Linked DNA regions of Homo sapiens: all the other regions are linked to region 3. Evidence: promoter capture Hi-C in 16 types of primary human blood cells and fetal thymus (Javierre and others, 2016). All regions are on one chromosome and are shown on one strand. Each heading gives the region's core, a stretch centred on a gene start or on the middle of the fragment in contact. The rest is flanking DNA. Distances are from core to core; before and after follow the strand shown.

The links. Contacts are between HindIII fragments. The CHiCAGO score rates a contact against its expected background, and 5 or more counts as called.
Region 1: a contact is called between a fragment that was not itself captured here and the fragment with the promoter of ALPK3 in region 3, in 6 of 17 cell types (M2 macrophages, M1 macrophages, non-activated CD4 T cells and 3 more). The highest score is 8.0, in M2 macrophages.
Region 2: a fragment that was not itself captured here is called in contact with the fragment with the promoter of ALPK3 in region 3 in 7 of 17 cell types (endothelial precursors, M0 macrophages, M2 macrophages and 4 more); the score reaches 12.0 in endothelial precursors.

What each region holds. Positions count from the first base shown.
Region 1 is chr15:84,575,397-84,578,096 of GRCh38, reverse strand. LINC00933 (long intergenic non-protein coding RNA 933) reads right to left here. Exons shown (of 4, transcript NR_038274.1): 4 at 1-149. Among named protein-coding and RNA genes, the nearest start is that of LINC00933, 6.1 kb to the right of the region's middle. The HindIII fragment of the contact is 1,109 bases long and covers 784-1,892 here.
Region 2 is chr15:84,635,537-84,638,298 of GRCh38, reverse strand. It overlaps the pseudogene SCAND2P and the pseudogene EGLN1P1. Among named protein-coding and RNA genes, the nearest start is that of WDR73, 17 kb to the left of the region's middle. The HindIII fragment of the contact is 2,378 bases long and covers 212-2,589 here.
Region 3 is chr15:84,816,038-84,818,837 of GRCh38, reverse strand. It overlaps ALPK3 (alpha kinase 3), which reads right to left and starts at 1,482. Exons shown (of 14, transcript NM_020778.5): 1 at 1,243-1,482. The coding sequence starts at 1,385. RefSeq lists an enhancer at 1,854-2,384. The HindIII fragment of the contact is 9,413 bases long and covers 528-2,800 here.

The sequences.
Region 1 (2,700 bases), core at 89-2,588, 240 kb after region 3:
AGCTGCTTGGCTTTCTGTGGATACGTTGACTCCAGGAGGCTTCTTGAGTTCTGTGTGTTCGGCTGGCCTCCGGTGGCCCCATTATTATTTTCTGCCAGGTAAAGGTCAGTCACCTGTACACAGATCTCATCACTCATGATATGCTGCAGCTGGAATCAAACAACGGCAAGCTGTCAGTGAACACAGAAAACATTTCTCCATTACACAGTCAATGTTCCTTTGACTGATCCAGTCACTCAACTCAAAAGAGGTTTTGGTTTTATTTGGCTGGCAATTTTAGAAAATTCACCAGACAAACCACTGTATCATTTTCTTGGAGAATAATCAAGCTAAGTTTTTCAACCATATCAGTGGTTCATTGTAAAACTTTCATATCTATTTAAAATAAAAACCATAGAGAACTCAGGTTAATGTACTGTTTATTTAAAATTCTAAGGATCTTTAAATAATTTTCCATAGGTCATATTTTATTGCATTTTAAAATCATTTAGAATTTGCTTTCATACATATTCTCTCTCATTTGATCCTCACAACTTCCCTGGGAAGCAGGTTGGAGAGAGAGTTGGGACCTGTTAGGAGACAAATTTACACAATGCATAAGAAAGCTCACTGTGAGTTGGGGTGAGGAGGGGAGCCTTGGAGAATCATGAAAGCAATATCTATATCTTTATTCCCAGCCCAACTACAAAGCCTGAAACTCATTAGGTATTTAAGAAATAGCTGCTGAATTATTGCCTAGGGGTGCTCAGCTGAAGAAGGAGGGTTGGGACTAACAGTCAAGCTTCCTGACTCCTAGCCCAATACTTTTCCAAACACACCACCTATTTTTCTATATCTGATAGAAAGTACAGTGCTTAAGTTGTACATGATGTTATCTCACTTTTAATACAGGCCAATCATGATTGACTATATGTGGCTTTCATGACAATCTTAGGAAACTAATGACTAGAAAGTTGAACCTTTCAGAGTTCCCATTCTCATGTTATATGCTATTTCTATTTTGAAATAAAAATCCTTCCAAATGAAACTTTATCCATCAAAATGTCAGAGAAGTGAAAAATAGATGCAAGAAGAAAGCAAAACGTTAATTTCAATATCAGCCGGGTGTGGTAGCTCATGCCTGTAATCCCAGCACTTCGGGAGGCTGAGGTGGGCAGATCACAAGGTCAGGAGATCAAGACTACCTTGGCTAACACGGTGAAACCCCGACTCTACTAAAAATACAAAAAATTAGCTGGGCGTGGTGGCAGGCACCTGTAGTCCCAGCTACTCAGAAGGCTGAGGCAAAAGAATGGCATGAACCTGGAAGGCGGAGCTTGCAGTGAGCTGAGATCCCACCACTGCATTCCAGCCTGGGCAACAGAGTGAGACTCCATCTCAAAAAAAAAAATTGGGGGCCTGGTAGTTAAAAATCAACCCCTGACCTAACTGCTTGTGTTATCTATAGATTCCAGACATTGTATGGAAAAGCATTGTGAAAATCCCTGTCCTGTTCTGTTCCATTCCAATTACTGGTGCATGCAGCCCCCAGTCACATACCCCCTGCTTCCTCAATTGATCACGACCCTCTCACACAGACCCCCTTAGAGTTGTAAGCCCTTAAAAGGGACAGTCATTGCTTACTTGGGGAGCTTGGCTTTTGAGATGCAAGTCTGCAGAAGCTCCCAGCTGAATAAAGCTCCTTCCTTTTTTAACCTGGTGTCTGAGGAGTTTTGTCTGCAGCTCATCCTGCTACAATATGTCATGGACCAACCTCAAAAACATTAGCTAAGTAAAAAAGCCAGACACGAGACCACATATTGTATAATTCCATTGATTTGAAATGTCCAAAAAAGGCAAATTTATAGAGAAAGAAATGGGCTGATTTATCTCAAGAGGCAGGGATTCAAGCTTTCTAGACTATATGTGATACATAGATGAGAAAAAATAAGGAAAAGAAAATAAATTTAAATAGAAATAAATGAAAATAATACTTCTCCCTGATTATAAAGAAAATCATATTCTTTTTCTAATAATTTGGAAGACAAAATATGAAGAAAAGTCTTTAATTTTGCCACTCAAAACATTCTGCCTTGTTGCTTTTTATACTTTTTTATGCATATACACATTTTAAAAAGTAGAATCATTATATAGTCTTTTGTCACTATGTTTTAGGCATATTTCTATGGCAGTAAATCTATCCTTAGCATCATCATTTTTAATAGCTCGATGTATATTAACTTAATCATTGCCACCCCAGAAATAAATTTTCTTATATGTATATTTTTAGTGGATTAGAGCAAGCATTTTTGGATTTAATTCATAGAAGTAGAATTTCTGGAGGAAAATAACGTACAACAGTTTTAGGGTTTTTAATATAAATTTTCAAATTATCCTGCAGAAAAATTGGTTCAGTTTATACTCCCACCAACAGGGGCAGAGCTCCAGTTTCCCCCTCCCATTTGTCCTCTTCGCTGGTCTTTAAGCAGAAAATCTGATTGTTTTCATTACATTTATTTGGTTTCTAACGCTTTTGAATCTTTTTTTTTTTTTTTTTTTGAGATGGAGTCTTGCTCTGTCATCCAGGCTGGAGTGCAGTGGTGCAGTCTCAGCTCACTGCAATGTCTGCCTCTTGGGTTCAAGCTATTCTCTTGCCTCAGCCTCCAGAGTAGCTGGGATTACAGGTATCCACCACCACACCTGGCTAATGTTTGTATTTTT
Region 2 (2,762 bases), core at 151-2,650, 180 kb after region 3:
TAATGCCTGAGTCAGGGCAAGTGACACAACAGAAGAAATGAAACAGTGATTATTTTGGCTTTTAAATGCAATCAAGCGGGCAGGAGGAGACAGAAAAGAAACAAGCTGACATTATGCACTGAGCCAGAAGCTTCTCAGACTTGCCCAGAGTTACACAGCAAGTCCAGGGTATGGCTGGGAATTCAACTCAAGGCTGTTGGACTCTGAAGCTTTTGGTTTTTGTTTTTTTTCCTCCACTACACAGTACTGCATGCCATGTGAGCAAGATCCCGACACAGAATGAAGTAACCAGTATCTTTAAGGCAAACAAGCAGATCAGTAGAATCTGATGATTTCAGGGTCAAAGAAAAGAATAATTTTAATGCAATCCCTCATTACCACAGCCATGGCACTGGCCTCATATGGGTAAGGAGATTTGGGCAACCTTTTGCAGGCTGATGAAATTTTGGAGCCTAAATTGTAAAGTTACTGGGCCTCCCTGCTGGGTAAAATTCTTTTGGAATTTCTGAGCGGCAAGAGAGTTGGTTGCAGGAGCCCCACTTGGGTAGTAAAAGGTGACCTGAGGGGGATTGGGGGCTAGGGGAGGGAGAGCATTAGGAGAAATACCTAATGTAGACGATGGGTTGGTGGGTGCAGCAAACCACCATGGCACGTGTGTACCTATGTAACAAACCTGCATGTTCTGCACATGTACCCCAGAACTTAAAGTATAATAAAAAGAGAAAATTTAAAAAAAAAGAAATATAATCTGTAAAGACAAATGACTTAATCGTTTTCCCAAAAGGAGAAAACTGAGCTGTGCCTCAAGAGTTATATTTCTATTAAAAAAAAAAGAGAGAGAGAAAAGGTGATCTATATAAGAGAAATGGCTGACTCACCTGGGAGCTGCTCACTATCTCCTGGCCACCCCTGCTCTTCTCTGCAGGAATTCCCAGAGCCACATCAGGCAGGGCTGGGGGAAGAAAAGGGAGGCATTAGAGTACATGGCTCTCAGCTCCTCTTGGGGACTAGCCCAACTGGGTTCAGACACAGAACAGCCTTTCCTCCCCCTCTTAGTATCTGCTTTGTCCTATCAAAGGAAGGTTGGTGAAAAACCAAAATGAAACATTTCTTTTTTTTTTTTTTTTTGAGACGGAGTCTCACTCTGTCGCCCAGGCTGGAGTGCAGTGGCACAATCTCAGCTCACTGCAAGCTCCGCCTCCCAGGTTCAGGCCATTCTCCTGCCTCAGCCTCCTGAGTAGCTGGGACTACAGGTGCCCACCACCACACCCGGCTAATTTTTTGTATTTTTAGTAGAGACGGGGTTTCACTGTGTTAGCCAGGATGGTCTCGATCTCCTGACCTCATGATCCGCCCGCCTCTGCCTCCCAAAGTGCTGGGATTACAGGCGTGAGCCACCATGCCCAGCCAAAATGAAACGTTTCTAAAATGAAAGTTTTAGGTTTTCCCCTCCATATCCATCTAGGTACTGACTGTCAGGGTTTTATGATTTTGTTTTTCAGGTTTTTTGTTTGCTTTTTGTTTTTTTGAGACAGGGCCTCGATCTGTCGCCCAGGCTGGAGTGCAGTGGCGTGACCTTGGCTTACCGCAGCCTTAACCTCCTGGGCTCAGGTGATCCTCCCACCTCAGCCTTCTGAGTAGCTGGGACTACAGGTGCCTGCCACCATGCCCGGCTAATTTTTTTTTTTTTTTTTTTTGTATTTTTAGAGGAGACGGAGTTTCACCATATTGCCCAGGCTCATCTCTGAACTCCTGGGCTCAAGCAATCCACCCACCTCAGCCTCCAAAGTACTGGAATTACAGGCATGAGCCACCATAACTGGCCTTGTTTTTCAGTTTTGATAACACACCTGAGTCATCTAAATTGGTCTGGGGACACTTAACTGTTTTAAGGATTACTGCACCTTAGTTTAACCCTACCCTTTTGCCCTTCCCACCAACCAGACCTAAAATCTGTCTCCAACTGTAACCTATTGGGACCGGTAATCTCTGACTCACATAAGGAAAGGTGCTACAGGCTCCCCTATGTTGTTTTACAAAACATGCCAACCGAGGTCCTTCTTCACTTTGGAGGTGCCCATTTAGGATCCCAGAAATTCATGCGGTCAGCCTGAGGTCAACACACCAATCTTCTAAGTAGAAGGGAGCTGTACCTTCTACCCCACTTTCTGCACTCACAGAGTACTTCTATGCCCTCCCCACAGAAGGGTACTTCCTTCCTCCCCACACTGCTGCTACTTTTTTTTTTTTTAAATCTGATTTTGCACTTTTTTTTTTTTCTAAGCTAAACATCTTTCAGTACAGGTAAGAAGACTGGCATCACATCTGGGAAGTGCCTTAACAGATATCTGAGGAGTTACTGCACATTAAGTCGGTAACAACACACTTCGGTTTCAAGGCGTATGTAATCTTCCCTTGATGCTCTTCAACAGAGACAAGGTTCCTGTCTGTAGATCAAATAAATCACAGTATTAGGAAAAAAAATAACAGCAAATTTGGAAGTACAATCAACTTAAGGAGAAGCAAAGGAAAAGACTTAGAAATGGGACATTATTGTCTACATCTAGAGGATACATGTATCTGAAAGCTTAAGAAAGCCCTTATCTTAGGAACTTGAAGCTGAGGATAATCTCAAGTTCACTTAGTGCCAGTCACTTTAGTTTTTAAAAAAATTTAACTTAAACCCCAGCCTAGGCAACATGGTGAAACCCAGTCTCTACTAAAAATACAAAAATTAGCCAGGCATGGTGGTATGTGCCTGT
Region 3 (2,800 bases), core at 233-2,732:
AAGGGGTATTCTTTCCTGGCAGCCAGGGGCCTTGTTGAGTCTGACTCAGTCACTAACATCAGTCCTCAGCCCTGCCCCAGACATGTGACACCATTTGACGAGTTTTATGCAGAAACCGGTTCCGGTTACATTTGAACTTTCCCAACTCCAAGGTCAGTAGGACTCAGCCAATTCACGAGGAAGTGCCCAGGACTTTTCCTGAATGTCCTCGATGCCTGTTTTTATGCTGTTTTAGGAATGGAGAACAAGAGGTCTCTGGACAGCCTCTTGGAGGAATGGCCGTTTTCTGCATAATACACAAGTCAAGTTCTCAGGCTATGAAACAACCACTATCTCAACACATTTCCCTTTGGAAAACAGACTCCAGAAGTGAAGGGAAACTGAGCTGCCCACAGGGGGCAGGAAGTGTCTGTCTCCATGGCAATGCGCCTGTCCACGTGTGCCTGTGTGCCTTTGATTTCCTGGATGCCTGTCTATTGTCTTTGTGTCTTTATATCTGTGGGTGGCCTAGCTGCTAAAACAAAGCTTCCACACCTCTTGAACTCTTGGAAGACCAGTGAAGGGCTCATCAGTTCCACACCTCCCTTGGCATTTCACTTCCCCAAACTGGACAGGGCACTTGGCTCCCTCAGAGCTGCAAGTCCTTAATTCCCAACATCTCCAGACAGTACCTCATCCCACCCCCTATCTCACCAGCCCCCACTCAGGTCCTGGGGAGGACCCAAGTCCTCGGCCCAGTAGAGGAACCTTATTTACAAAGGTTTATTTCTTCCTGGAGAACCTCCCCACCCTGAGCTAAGCAGCTCCTACTCTGGGCAGCCCCCCAGCACCCTCTCCCTGTCCCCACCAGTGCTCTCCCCCTCCCTTCCTGCCAGGGAGGAATTTCAGCCACTCTGGCTTTCCTTATCGCTAGCTGTGGAATCCCAAGCCAGGGAGTAGCAGGGTAGGGGGCAGGGGAGATAAGGAAAGCCTTCAGACCCCATGAAATCACTCCAAAGTGGAGCCTTTGTCCTCTCTTGAGCCTCGAATTGCCAGAGGCCTGAGGCGCATGGATCAGGAGGGGTCACAAGGGGCTATGAAAGCCATTCCAGCCCGGCCATGTCCCCAGGCCCTGGGCCTTGGGGCTGAGAGGGCTCGAGGGCGCAGGCCCAGCCCAGGCCTCCAGGGGCCAGGCCGCCCTCACAGGGACTGATCCCAGGGCATCGCCGGCCCGACGCCGCCCTGCCCCTTGGTGCCACTTACCTGGTCTCGGGCCGCACGCTGAGCAGGTAGCTCCGGCTGGCTGGGCTGGGGATCCACACGGGGCCGTCGTCCTCACCGTCGCCCCCCGCCCCCGACCGCCCACCCGCGCCCCAGCCCCGGCTGGGGGCCCTCCGCGACCCCATGGCACCGCCCTCCCCGACCGCCGGCCCCGCACTCGCCGCTGCCTCGCCTGTCCTCCAGGCCCCGGCCCCCGGGCCCCTGCCCGCCGCCGCCGCTCCCGCCCGCGGCTGACGCGCGCCCCTATTTATAGCCGGTGGCCGGGCCGTCGTCACCTGCTGCTGTCCCTCCCCTGGCCTGGCCCGACCCGGGCAGCGCGGCTTGGAGACGCCGGGGGGCGCCGGGGCCCATGTGCCCGCCCCAGGGCCGGCTCCGAGTCCGCTCCCTTGGCGGCCCTGGTGTCTGCAGTAGCGCCGCGTCTGGAGAGGCCCGGGAGGCCTCGGGAGGAAGGCGCAGCGGGTGTCCTGGTCATGGAGGACAGGCCCCTTCGTGGAGCTCCCGGGACCCGGCTCCCGGCCGGCCTGCTCATGTCCCGTGTGGCATATGAGGGGTCCACGAGGCCTGGCCGGGGCCAGGGGAGCCAGGTCAACCGCTGGCCAGCTTGGGCTAGACCGCGGGAGACCAGGGAGCCAAAGAACCAGCCCTCTTCCTGGCACCAGCCGTGACTGACCCTCGCCTTGCCTCGCCAGTGGCTGTTGGCCCAGCACATAGACAAGCCAAGCCACCTCCATTAGTGACCTGAGTCCCTGGGAGGCCGGAACCCCGTGGGATCTCTCTCCTGTCTCCCCCAACACCCCCAGTAACTAGCATAGATTAGGGGCTCAATTAACACTTCTAGATCACTCCTTCGGCCTCCATTTCTCAGCACCAGAGGGGGAAATGGGCTGAGTCCTGATACCCAGAAAAATAATCAAATCATGCAACAATTTCCAAGAACTAGTGCCAAGCACTGCCGAAACCTGGTCTAAATATTGGAAGTCCCCACAGACTTTTTTTTTTTTTGAGACAGAGTCTGGCTCTGTCGCCCAGGCTGGAGTGCAGTGGCGCTATCTCGGCTCACCGCAACCTCCGCCTCCCGGGTTCATGCCATTCTCCTGCCTCAGCCTCCCGAGTAGCTGGGACTACAGGCGCCCCACACCACGCCCGGCTAATTTTTTTCTTTGTATTTTTTAGTAGAGACGGGGTTTCACCGTGTTAGCCAGGATGGTCTCGATCTCCTGACCTCGTGATTCGCCCGCCTGGGCCTCCCAAAGTGCTGGGATTACAGGCGTGAGCCACCGCGCCCGGCCGGAAGTGCCCACAGACTTTTTTATCCATCCTTCTTTCTCCTATTTTCCTGAGAGCATCCAGAAAGTACCTGAAGCTAAATGGCTGTAATTGTTAGAAAGTGGGAGCAAAGGAGTCCAACCCTTCTGTTTTCGAAGCTGCACCCATCCCTACTCCTTTTGGAAATGGCTTTCCCCTACTCCGTGTGGTTCCAATGGCAACTACCTTGTTCCCACATGATCCCACTCCTGGCCTCAGCTGACTGCCATCAAAC